2 separate regions of the Homo sapiens genome follow, and region 1 is linked to region 2. The links are contacts of gene promoters, found by promoter capture Hi-C in human tissues and cell types (Jung and others, 2019). All regions are on one chromosome and are shown on one strand. The core of a region is centred on a gene start or on the middle of the fragment in contact, and the rest is flanking DNA. Distances in the headings are between cores, read along the strand shown.

Region 1 (6,439 bases), core at 2,969-5,468, 800 kb after region 2:
GCAGGAGAATTGCTTGAACCCGGGAGGCGGAGGTTGCCGTGAGCAGAGATCGCGCCACTGCACTCCAACTTGGGTGACAGAGCAAGACTCTGTCTCAAAAAAAAAAAAAAGAACAGTTCACTTTTGAACTGACTCTAGAAATAAGTAGATACTTGACCAGCAGATGGAAATGATGATTGAGGGACGGGTATGCAGAAAAGGATGAGATTTCAGGCATCAAAGGCACCCTATTGATTGATGAGGAAATCTGTTCCATGTCCAGGGAACTGGTCCTTGTGGTGGGGACTGGGCGTCATGGGGAGAGGATACTACAGAGCTGGGCTGTGCCCAGACCAAGGAGAATATCTGTGGAGTGGGAAAGAGTTTGCTTCTTTTTCACTGCAGGCCCATGAGGTGCTGCTAAGATGGTGAGCACCTCCTCTCTCCACCCTGCAATCCATGAGCTCACACCACCGGGAGATCCTGAGAAGCCACTTACCTTGTCATGGGGCAGGTAGTGCAGTCTTCCTGGGTTGGTCCCTGGCACTTGGCACATGAGGCCTCACAGGTCTGGCAGTGGCCATGCTCATCAACATATTCTCCTGGGGAACAAAATCTAGTTGTTTATTTCATTTCTACATGGCAAGCCTGCCTGGGCTGTCAGTCTGAGAGCAGCCAGATCTCTGTGGCTGCCTGAAAGCAATGCAGACAACACAGAGAGGAGAGGCCCTGAATGGCTTCAGCTGCTAGTCCCAAATCCTGACCTTATCATAACAACTGCTCCTCTCCCGGGGGCTCCAGAAGTTGGAACCTCAAAAAGTTATGAGGCAATGACATATTTCTGAATCTAGTCAACATGTGTTACAGATTTTATAAGTAGGGAAGGCCAAGCGGGGCTTCCCACCAGACCCCTTTACTGAACTCCTGCTGACTTTTCCATTAAAAGCTGAGGTCTCCTGGTCCACAGAGGGCCGTATAGTCTTGGTTCAAGTCAAGCAATGAGCAGGAACCACCTAGATCTTTTCTTACCACCCCATGGGGTAGAGGTGTGGTAATCATGGTTACTGGTCAAGAATGGGTGCTGAGTCTTGGCTGACATTGGGTGATTGTAAGCTACATCTCACTCTGAAAGAGTAATAGTGAAGAAATAGCCAGGGAATTCTTCCTTTAATTGGAAATTTTATCTTTCCCAAGGAAAAACACATATGGGGCCCTGCAACAGAAGCAAATCCAGCCTCACAAGTTTCTTGGAAACATTTTAAGAAATTACTCCCACAGCAAAGGTGGCAGAGGGAGGCCAATCTCATGGAAAGTAAATCTCATAGACTCAAAGATGGGCCTCTACTCACTGAATCCAACCCTCATTGCACTCATCCTAACCTGCTATTGTCTTAAAAAAAATTGACAGGCTTCTTTGGTCAGATCCACAGAGCCACTTTTTCTGGTTTAGAGACTGGTCATGCCCAGAAAATATGGTTTCAGATTTTGGCAGAGACACAACCTCCACTGGACCTCAACCCCCTCCAACTCTGACAGCCCCCATAAGCCATGTCTGAACACTGTCAATCTGAGATCCAGCTGGTGGGGTGAGATAGCAGGACCCGCCCAGGGTTTAATCACGTTGTCTTACTGCAACTCCAAGATTCACTGCCTGATTTAGCATAGTTGCATTGAAAAGAACCCTGGAAACCTAGACTTGACTGGTGAGGAAATGAGGGAAATTCATCCCTCTTTCCCCCATCGCTTTACTGGACTGGTACAGCTAGCATGTAAGTAAATCTTATATATGTAAATTTTACACTTGCTAGCACTAAACCCCAAAGATGACTGTGAAGAGACAACTAGAGTTTGCCTTTATGTAGCAGAAAAAGCCTTTCATGTAGGGTTATTCTATTCATTTTGTTAACAGAAGGGAAAAGTGCATGTTCAGAGTGATGCAAACATCTAATCACAGCACACCCTGCACACCCCGGGCTCTGTTCCTCTATGTCTCCTCATTGTTACCAAGGTACAGTTTGGACTGGGAAACTTATATACAATTTTTAGAATGGGAATGGGACTGTGATTCTTACTTCAGGACTGACTAGGAAACTTCCCAGGAGACCTAGGCCCAAAAGAGTGCATAACCAGCAGGGGCAAAGGCATACCAACAGGTATGCAGGTTGTTCACTGCACAAGGTGCCTACCCACCCGAATGGTCCAGTGGAGGCTGACATCCAGCCCATTTGCTTCACCATGCCAGGCACTCTGGTGTAGGCTGCGCCTGCCTCTGTAGAGGGACACCTTTTATTAACTCATACAAAGGTGTTGACTGGACTGGTTACATTCTTGGTAACCAGTAGCCCTGAGACAGAAAAAAGCTGTGACCTCCATCTAGCAGGAGTGGTGATTTCAAGCTGAGACTGTGTCACTGACTACAGGCATCATCATAGTTATGCAGCCTTCTTTATATTTATTCAGGCTCCTTCACTTCACCTCTTATTTATGGCTTCCACTATTGTTGTAGGAGGCACAATCAATTGAGCAGGGTGATTATCAGTCCAGGTACCAGCAAAATTAAGAGCAGAGGACCCAAGGCAGACTCAGTGGGAAGAAGCAGACCTTGCCTACAGGGGCCAGTGCAAACGATTTGTTTTTACAGTTAGATGATATCTATGTATCTTTCAAAAAAATATGCTGAGTGGAACAAGAATGGAGAGGTTCATAGAAGCTGAAAACCTCACAAAAATCGTATTCTAGAGAAATGTGGACTCAGAGAGCACAGCTTATCCATTCATTCATTTTATGGATATATTTTTTAACACTACATACATGCCAGCTACTAAGGGAGATGTAGAGACATACAAATTAAAAAGACCCTACTCGTGGGTTCTCAAAGATTTTATGCGAGTGATTTATAGATAGTTATAACACAATTGCTAGCCAAGGGACTTCTACTTCCTCAGACAGGCCAGATTAAAAACCAGAACAGAAGAGCAAGGGTGTACACAGGACTCTGCTAGACCCAGAGGCAAAGACAATTACTTTGCCTTGACATCAGTGCCTGTAGGAATGGGCAGAACTCCTCATATTCATCTATCCTCATTTCCATGATGTGTCAGATCCAATGCTAGGATAGGATTTTAAACTAAAACACCTTGCTCTGCTAAATCAAATGCTACTTAGAAGGTTCTGAGAGTTATATCATGTCTGCGCTCAAAGTCTTTATCATACAGATGAGGCATCGTTAGGTTAGTCGAGGGTTATTAAGATATAACTGTGAAAATTTTAAATTTTCTTCTGTATCTCTTGTTTGCCTTCTCATTGGCTTTCATAAACCAGTAGGTGGCTTTAATACTCTGGCTTTGCATGTCTTCAATCTACTCAACTATAATGGCCTCTGTTGGCACTCACAATGTGCTGCCTTAGATATAATGACCCCAAAAGATTACCCCATCTCCAAGATTTTAAATACATCCTCCAGACACAGCTTCTTATGCCATACTATAAGTCTACATCATCCTAGGTGACTCCCTGTCACTGTGCGATTATCCCTTCATTCATCTCTTCCAATCTCTAGCTTGCATCCCCCACCTGGGGTAGGCCAAGCCATCCCAAAGCCCAAGTTCCACCCATTCTTCTGCAAAAGGAGACATCACCTCCTCATTTGCAATAAGATGTCTGAGTTCCCTTGGCTTTTTTTTTTCTCAATGTCAAAAGTCATCTCTGTCTTCTCTTTGGCTTTTTACTTATCTTCTGTCTCCAAAAGAAAGGTCTGCCACTCTTCCTGGCTATTGTCAATTCCCCATCTACTGTTATAATCTTCTTTCCTCAGAATATTTCTCCACCAGTTCCTCTGTGTTTAATCTCTTCCTCACATCTCCAATCCTTGTCTGATCTACAAAAGTTTTCTGCTAACTTAAACCTTCCCAAGCCCTTTCCCTCCCTGATAAGGGACTTGTAAAACTTGTTTTTTCCTCCTACTATTTGGAAACAAAATGGTGAAAACTTCATGACCTTGAAGCTTATGTAAGAGCGTCAGTGTAAGACAACTAAACTGTGCCTGTCTCTCAAGTCTGCATGCCTCTTCACGTTAGAACAGCTGATGAGAATAGAGAAGGCTTCTCCCATTCTCATATTTACGTAGATGTTTAATTAGTTACATAAGCAACTGCCCCCAGCTCTTACAGGCACAAGTTTTCACTGCATGTTTGGAACTGAAGAAACCAGATTCCAAGGACACAGAGAAGTTGCTCTTTTTTGTTGTTTTTGGAGCAGCAAATTCTTGTCATCTGTCTTCATTGCACAATGAAGCTGAATGTTTATGACAGGCATGATATACAAAATTCTTACAAAAAGTCAACTTTTAACAGAGCCTTCAGGAGCCAGTATTTTGTTTTCCACCTCATCCTACAAGCTCTTCTTTCTGGCATCTTCATCCATTGTTATGATTTCCAGATCATCTTTCTCCTGTGATCAAAAAATGTTCCATTCCCCCTTTAGTTTCTTTCTCATCCTATGCTATAATGGTTCAAAGACACTGAGGAAGTGTAGTCACTTGGAGAGGAATGCTACCTCAAAAGTTGAAGACACAGCTTAAAAATTAATACTTATAAATTTTAAAAAGTTACAAGTGGCTTACTGTGCTTATTCCATCTCTTGATAACACTGTAGAATACTATCAACAAGTCCAGATTCTAAGCAAACATTATAAAGTCTTCCAGAATAACTGAACATGTATCATAGCATCCAAAGTTACAACATAAGATTGAAGTATAATCCTTTTTTAGGTTTACATGGCCAGAAGAGCCTCATTTCTCCTGAACAAATGCTACGCTTTCTTTTATACCTCATATTTCCTTATTGGTTACAGCTAAATTTATTGTAGAATTCTAGCAAATAAATATGTACACTGAATAAATTAATCGATACATAAATATGATATTTTATGATGTGAGTTTAAAAACTTTTTAGCAAGATGATTGGTAAGAGAGGATGGGAGGAATTTGATGAGAATTCAGTTGCTTGGTTTTTGATCTAGTTATTTCAGTGAGTAACCTTGGGGTATGAAATTATCTGTAGACTTCCCTGTGAGGCCTATTTATGTGCCTCGTCACTCAGATGCCAGAAATCATAGAGTATGAGTGATTCTACTATCACAAGTGTTAATCAAATAATATTATCTCTTTGCAAGGATGCCAACATGTAGTTTCCAACTTAAGATACCATTCTGTGAAGATAATTTTTATTAAAAACATCTATATGTTTTTTTCGCCAGCTATAATAAATACTCAGCAACACTTTCAGCTACTTATGTACTAATGAAATCAGTTGTTTTTCAAAGCTTTGTTAAGCATAAAGTTTTATAGCAAGGCTCAAACTATGAGGCCATCAACTGAGACTGCAACATCTTTAAGTCAACACAATCATTCAGCCTTAAAAAGAAAGGAAATTCCGACAAACTCTACAACATGGATGAACCTTGAAGACACTATGCTAAATGAAATAAGCCAGTCACAAAAGCACGAATATTGTATTATTTTACTTATATGAGGTAACTGGAGTAGTAAAAGTGATAGAGACAAAGTAGAATTGTAGTTTCCAGGGCCTAAGGGTAGGGGGAAAGGGTTATTTAATGGGTACAGAGTTTCAGTGGAAGAAGATGATGAAGGTCTGGAGATGGATGGTGGTAATGGTTGCAGAGCAGTGTGAATGTATTTAATGCCACAGAACTACACACTAAAAATAGTTAAAATGGTAAATATATATTATGAATATTTTACAATATTTTTTTAAAAAAATATCTACACAAAGAGTTTGTGTCTTAGCAGGCCAATACTTCATTTTAGCCAAAAAACAAAATCAGTATTGCCTGTCTTTGGGGATGGGTCCAAAGGGTATCAACCAATCCACCATCTTGGGAAGCCAGTCTGTTGAAGTGAGGCTTGGGAGACCTCCTGTGATAATGGAAATAAATTGATATATGAATAAAACTTGGGATAAGGGAGACATCTGGCAGATGGAAAACTCTGTCTTCTTCCTTTCCTCAAGGATGCACTAAAGACAGAATGAACATTAGGCAGCTAGAAAGAGGGTTCTACATCCCTACCCTGGAGGTGTCTGGAGGAAATCTCTTCTCTATCCCATTCTCTCAAGGACAACTTGCCCTTGTCCTTCCTGCATATTCTGTTTTTGATTGACAAGACTTATCCTTCCTGGTCCCATTGCTTTTTCATTCTCAGGCAGGCACTGACATTGATCTGTGGGGTTTGTGCAGATGCTCTGAAATGCTACTCTGGCAACCTCATGGGTTGGCACTCCTGCAAAAAGGATGGATCGTAAATTGTGGATCCAACACACACACACAAATATTTAGTTTCCTTCAGCCTACACGTTGTTCAAAGGGCAGAATTAAGAGTTGATCTTTCTAGTTTCCACCGTCGTTTGGCCCTTGACCACAGTCAGGCAGTTAAAAAAGTAC
Region 2 (6,533 bases), core at 2,635-5,134:
GAGCCCCCAAAACAAAACTTCTGGCCTAAGAAATGTCTCCCAGGCGAAGTCAAAACTTTGAGGCACGCCGCAATGGGATTTGTAAATAAGGGATTCGTTGAAACACCTAGTTTTAAGATGTAACCTAACTTCCTCCCCATTCCTGCCCCTGCCATTGTCATTCTGTGCATGGGTGGTCTTTTGGCTTTTTATTTTATTCTGATGAAAGGTCAGAGGTGACTTTCGTTGGCCTGGCTGGGCACACGGAAGCTGGTTCAAAGTAGACCTGTGCTAAAGGGTGGAGGGCGGAGGCCGGGACGCGGCTTCCCAGGCCCCAGCGGAGGCGCCGCACCCTGCCGGGGCCTCCTGGCCCACTCCCAGAGCAGCTCTGCAGCAGCCGCTGCCCAAGGGTTCCCTTCCCGCAGCTCGAGCAGCTTGGCCGCCGGCTTTCACCCACCAAGAACTCTGCGGTCCCAGGCCCCAGGCTGTGGCCTCCCGCGAGGCGCGGTGTCGGCGCGCAACAGGTCTTCTAGGCGGCGGTGGCTGGGCGCGCTTGCCTAGTTGATGCGGCAGCGGCAGTGTCCCGGCGCCAACCCGGCTGCCTCCGTCCAGGACCGCAGACTTAAGGGGGCGCCGTCGGGCACCCACCCCGCTGACACCGAGTTCCTGGCCTTAGATGGTAGTCGAGGACCTCAAAATGGGAGAGAGGTGACGGATAGTGGTGACAGGAAAAACGCACTGTTGCGGGTTTTTGCTAATTCAGTCTCTACCATGGTGGTGGACTTAAGTTCAATTAGGAAACGGACATATTAAAAATAGGTGGTGGCCGGGCGTGATGGCTCACGCCTGTAATCCTAGCACTTTGGGAGGCCCAGATGGGACGATTGTTTGAGATCGGAAGTTCGAGACCAGCCTGGTAAACATAGTGGGATCTTGTCTCTAAAATACTACTACTAATAATAATAGATAGTAAAAGAGATGATTGTGCCAAAGGCTGAAAGGAGCAATGAAGGAAATCGGTGCTTACTGGTGGCTCGCCCGTGTACTCACCCCTTTGAAGTTCTGAAGTTAAGAAATAAGAGGGAGGGGAAGGATTTGCAAAGTACCCTAACCTAACTGTGGGCACTCAAACCACGGCCTCATCCTTGGAGAACTGAAACACCTTCACACGGGGCTAGCATAGATATCCAGAGAGAAGCTTTAATAGAGAACACCGCGTACAACACCAGCAGACATAAACAAAGTCACAACCCGAACGCGGCGCGGACAAGAGGCGGAGGTGACTTAGAGCCAAAGGGCAAAGCGGATTTCTCCCCACTCTGCCCCCCTCCATTCCCAAAATTGTGTCGCGAGTAAAGTGCTATTCCCTGGGGCTCAAGAGGGGGGAAGGGCAAGAGCGACAAGGCAAGTTTCTTTCCCATTCACGAATTGAAACTGAAGAATTAATTCGCCTGAAAGACATAAGCGCTCAAACAGCACACGGAATACAAAAACAGCCGCAGCGTGCAAAGGTGACTGGGTGGTCCCCTTGCTTCCGTCCGAGGAGACTGGAAGGGAACAGCCATGGAACGTTTCTGCAAGCGTTAAGAGCAATATTGTCGAGTGATGTGCCGAGTTTTTCCTGCATTCGTAAGTTAGGGAAACAAAATCCCGCTATACAAGTGATTTGTTTCCTTAAAATTCCAAATAGAAAGGATCGTGGGAATTCACATTATTCTTGGGCTCTCATCCGACTGATACCCAAACAAGTTGCAGGTGGAAAGTCGCCTGTATTGTCTCCCTTTGGTTGTGTTTCCCAACTTTTGGAATTTGGGGCTTTACCCTTTAAGCTGCTGCCATTCTCTTTTGTACAAACTAATTGCTCTAGAGGTTCCTCCTATCCTTCTTGACCCCCAGGTCAGAGCCAAGAACCTTAGCTGTTTCCCAAAGATATTTCGTGGGGTTCCCGCTGCCTCCTCTCCTCCCCTTCCCCCTCCAAAGCGACTTTATTCATGACACCGTTTCCTTGCCCATTTAGCTGACTAGGAAAATAACGGTATCAAACGCTTCCTCTTTTCCTTCTTAAATAAAACGAAATTTCCTTAGTGGACGGCAGTTTTGTCTTGAATGTTCACGAGAGGCGACCGCCGAGGATGCGACCAGCAGAGAGAAACGTGGTGGCTGAGATCCGTTTCAGCGTCACTCTCTGTTGGATTCTTCGCGGGAGGTTTAGCTCTGCCAGCTTCTGCTCCCAGGAATAAGGGTCAGAATCGACTTCCAATTTACCAGCGAATGAGGCTTTCCTAACCTCCTTCGTTCCCTCCCCCCATAACTTATGGATTTATATTAATTACAATAGAAACTCTTACCTGAAAATTGGCTTTCATTAATCTGATTGTACAACATAGTATAAACACAGACACCAGGAAGGTTATATTTATTCAGACCACTGGAGAATCCACTTTTCGGGGTTGTTCGTCTATTTAAATACCTTCCGTTCCAGCAAAGGCTGAGACTCGCCAGCTCTGCCCGGCCTGACCAGGGCGCCCTCTCCCCGTCGGGTGGTTTGGGCGGTTCCGGGCCCGGCGTCTCTCACCCCGCTGGTCTCCCCACGCCCGCCGGGTCCCCTAGGAGTGCACTAGCACCGAGTGCAAGGAGCCGCCCTTGCTTTCGGCCGAGGTAGGGGCTGTGGGCTCCAGCAGAGAGGCAACGGGCGAGGCCGCGGCCGCGGAGCACACGGTGGATGGCGCCGGAGGCTGCTGCGAAGCCGCGGGGACAGTGAGCCCCGGCTGCAGCGCGGACACGGGCGGCAGCGCAGGCGTGGGCTTGATGGGCACCGGCATGGCAGGCAGGCTCTGGCTTGCCGAGTGGCACAGGGACTTGACCGGGACCCCGAAGGCCCCATACTCCGGGCCTACAGGGACTCCGGCTGCGGCTGCGGCGGCCGCGGCGGCGGCCACCGAATCCATGACGCCAACGTGCGGCCACACGGAGCTGACGACGTTGCCAAGCTGGCCGGGCACGGGGTAGCCCAGGTGGTGCATGACGGACGCCAAGGGCAGCCCTCCAGCCTGCAGCACGCCCTTGTAGTCCCGGCCAATAATGTTCTCAATGGCAAAGGGGTGCTTGAAGCCTGACGTGGACGCCGCGGCCGCGGCGGCAGCGGCGGCGGCCGAGCCCAGCCCGTAGGGTGGGAACTGAGACAGGCGTCCCACGCTGCCCACCGCGGCTGCCGCGGCCGCCGCCGCCGCCGCCGCCACGGCCGCCGCCTCCTGCATCTTGCCGGGGTGAGACGGCTGCTGAGGCTGCGACTGCTGGGGCGGTTGCTGCGGGGGCTGTGACGGGAGGTGCGGAGGCGGCTGCGGAGCAGTAGGCGGTTGCTGATGGAAATAGTGTACCATGTGCGGCGGCGGCGGGGGCGGCGGCGGCGGCGGCTGGGGTGGGTGGTGGTGATGGTGGTGGTGTGCGGCAGCGTGGTGATGATGGTGGTGGTGGGGGTGGTGGTGGTGATGGGGGTGAAGGTGCCCTCCCGGACCGGCGCCCGGCGCGCTCTTGGTGCTTCCCGCGTGCAAGTGAGTATGGTCGGCGCGCAGCACCTTGAAGCGCTTGCGACGCCGCAGGAAGCTGCCGTTCTCGAACATGTCCCCGCAGTCGGGGTGCAGCGCCCAGAAGCTACCCTTGCCAGGCTGGTCGGGCCTCCGCGGAATCTTGATGAAGCAGTCGTTGAAGGAGAGGTTGTGGCGCAGGCTGTTCTGCCAGCGCTGTGTGTGCTCGCGGTAGTAGGGGAAGCGCTCCATGATGAACTTGTAGATGTCGCTCAGCGGCAGCATCTTCTCGGCCGAGTGCTGGATTGCCATGGCGGTCAGCGAGATGTAAGAGTAGGGCGGTTTTTGGTCGCTGTACGAGCTCTTCCCCGGCCGCGGCATCGCCCCCGGCTCCTCCACCGCCCTCCGGCCCGCACTGGACCACAGAATCTCTCCGCACTCCGTTCCTGGGGCCTGGCTGCCCCCACTAATTCCCACTCGGCCCCTCCAGTCCCGCCACTTTGCCCTCTCGCCCTCCAGGCCCTCTCTGCTTCTCTCTCCTGCCTTCTCCGAATTGCCTGGTGTCTCCGACCTTGGCCTTTCGGGCCTACTCAGCTCTCGGAAGCTGGCAACTTCTGGCCCCGACGGTTGCCGACTGGCGCGCACAGTCGCGGGCGGAGTGCACCAGGTTTACCGCCGCCTTCTCTGCGTCTTCCCCCGGGTGGCCAAAGACTGAGTGCTGGAGCTGGCTGCAGAGGAGAGTGGCAAGGGGCCGTGTTTCCTCCCGGCCTCTTTGCTTTTTCTAGGTCCGAGGGAAACCCAGACCAAGATGGCTGGGAGGAAGGTCTGGGCAGTAGAGACTCTGGCCCTTTAAATCTGAGTTTGCGCCTGCTGTCCTGGAGGCCAGTGACAGCAGGACTTCCAGTGCCCTGGACGCAGGCCCCTGGCCAGGCACTTAGCCAGACCGCGCTGGAGTTCTCCTTTTCCTGGAGTGAAAAATCAGGGTAAGGAGAGAGAAGATTGGCTTCTAGGGCGCCTCTCTTTTCTCCGAGGCTCGCAGCGTCGCCGGGGTTAGAAGAGACGCGCAGCCCTAGGCTGTCGCTGAGGAGAAAAAACTTTGGTGGTTTCTGAAGCGGCAGCGCCCGCAGGTTCTGCTGAGGAGTGTGGGGCGCAGGACTCTGGGAGCGAGCGGCGGGCTGGAGAGGGCGTCTGCGAATGCTGGGTGAGTGCTGGCCGGGGAGGCTCAGCCGTCCGCGCCGCAGCTGCCGCCTTTCTCCCGGGCTTGTCTTGAGGAGGAGAGGCGACGGCAGTGGCAGCGACGCGCTCTCCTGGCTGCGTTTTGTAATGGTCCCCGAGACGCCGAGACCCCCGCAGCTAGCGCTTCGAGACTATCACATGACCGAGGCTGAGGGACTCAGCCGCCGCCGCCGCGTCTGTAGCTGAAGAAGGGGCAAGAAGGCGCCGTGCCTCGCCCCCGCCCCCTTTTCCACCTCGTTTCGGGCGCTCTCCACCCATCGCGTTCACCACTCGCTCGGCAGCCCCCAGCCACCTCCCGGTGCGGCGGGTGGCGCAGGCTGTTCGCCGGGAGGGGGCACAGCTCCGGGTGCATTTCCCGCAGCTGCGCCCCACCCGGGCCACCAAGCACGGTGGAGGGGGAACAGGACACTGCCTTCTTGCTTCTCTTCTCTCTGGCATCTCCCTCTTCCGCCCCCTTCCTTTTACCCTTCCCTGTTTTCATCTACTCGCTGTGAGCTTCTCTCTCCTTACAAACCCTTTTTCCTGGGCTAGACACTCTGGGTCAAGTTCAGAGTATCGTGTCCTCAAGGCCTCTTCTCTGCAAGAAACCCCGATGATTAGAGGGCTGGAGGGAAAAACTCATGGGGAAGAAAGCATGGGGTGTTTTCACCAAATGCCAAATTCATCTCAGTTTTATTGCGCGCCAACTGCATGTGAGGCACCAGGTGCAGGGAGACAGGAGACAGTATCCGAGCTCCACCATCGCGGTATAGAGGGTGAGACGAACAGTAACCAAGAAATTAATAGAATAGGCACTAAAGGGCTTGGCGAATGGAGGCTCCACCACACTTTCCTGGAGCGAGTGAGTTGGACAAGATGAGGTTTCTCTGGGATGGCGATGTCTGAGCTGGGGCCAGAAGTAAGAGTTGGGGATTCAGGGGTCCCATCACCTGTGTGTGCTGGAAGGAAATCTTTGCTATTCTTAGCACGGTGGTGTGGGGCCAGGGCGAGGCAGGAGGTGGAATGGAAATAATTAAATAGGAAGCAAAAATTATCAGTCCACAGGATCCTGGTGTGATCTGCGAGGGAGAGGTGGATGAACCCAGGAGTGAGGTCCTTCTGCTTGGAGGTTCCTGCTCTGCACTCATCCAAACACCCAGCAGGAAACCCCAGTTTACTGCAGGGAGAACCTGAAGTTGTATACTCGTTTTGGCTACCTTTGCCCTTCAGCTGGGAGGAAAAGCAGAGTTTAGAAACAAGTATACTCTCCGTCTCTGGGACTGTTTCATTATTTGTAAAATAGGGTGGCTGAAGTTGGAAATTCACGGGTCCTTTCCCGTTAGGCGATTTGAGGAGAAAGGAGCATTTGGACACTATGGCTCCCTCGGTTTTCCCACGCCTAACCTGGAAGAAAGCCATCGGCCCAGCTGCTTGGGGGGCTGCCCCCTAACTAGCAACCTTGGTGACACCAGATCGGGTGTTTTCAGCTTCTGGCTTTTGGTGAGCTGGACGGTGGGAGCACGTCTGTCCGTGGGGTGGCTTAGCCAGGTCGCAGGAGTGCCGTGAGCGGGTCAGGCCCGTAATTTCCATCTTTAGTCAGGAGCTAGATTTCTGGCTAGCTCTATGTGGCCAGTTTGTCCTAGGCCAGAAGACGTCTGAGAATAGATGTTACGACTGAAGCTTGCAAGAAGGCCCGGGGAAAAGAGCAGCTTCTTGGTCCTAAGCCCTTTTCAAAGTAAGATGTTTTCTCTTTCACTGTATGTCGGAAGCTTTCCTCCTGCCATAGGAGTTTCTGCGCGATTTTTGTCCGCTGAG

What was found. The method cuts DNA at HindIII sites, captures the fragments that hold promoters and counts their contacts. A contact is called where the count stands out against the background at its distance.
Region 1: a fragment that was not itself captured here is called in contact with the fragment with the promoter of FOXB2 in region 2 in 1 of the 25 tissues and cell types used here (lymphoblastoid cells).

What each region holds. Positions count from the first base shown.
Region 1 is chr9:76,221,645-76,228,083 of GRCh38, reverse strand. It overlaps PCSK5 (proprotein convertase subtilisin/kexin type 5), which reads right to left. Exons shown (of 38, transcript NM_001372043.1): 21 at 479-581. Among named protein-coding and RNA genes, the nearest start is that of RFK, 170 kb to the left of the region's middle. The HindIII fragment of the contact is 4,753 bases long and covers 1,842-6,439 here.
Region 2 is chr9:77,017,006-77,023,538 of GRCh38, reverse strand. FOXB2 (forkhead box B2) reads right to left here and starts at 3,884. Exons shown (of 1, transcript NM_001013735.1): 1 at 2,586-3,884. The coding sequence starts at 3,884. The coding sequence ends at 2,586. The HindIII fragment of the contact is 6,747 bases long and covers 372-6,533 here.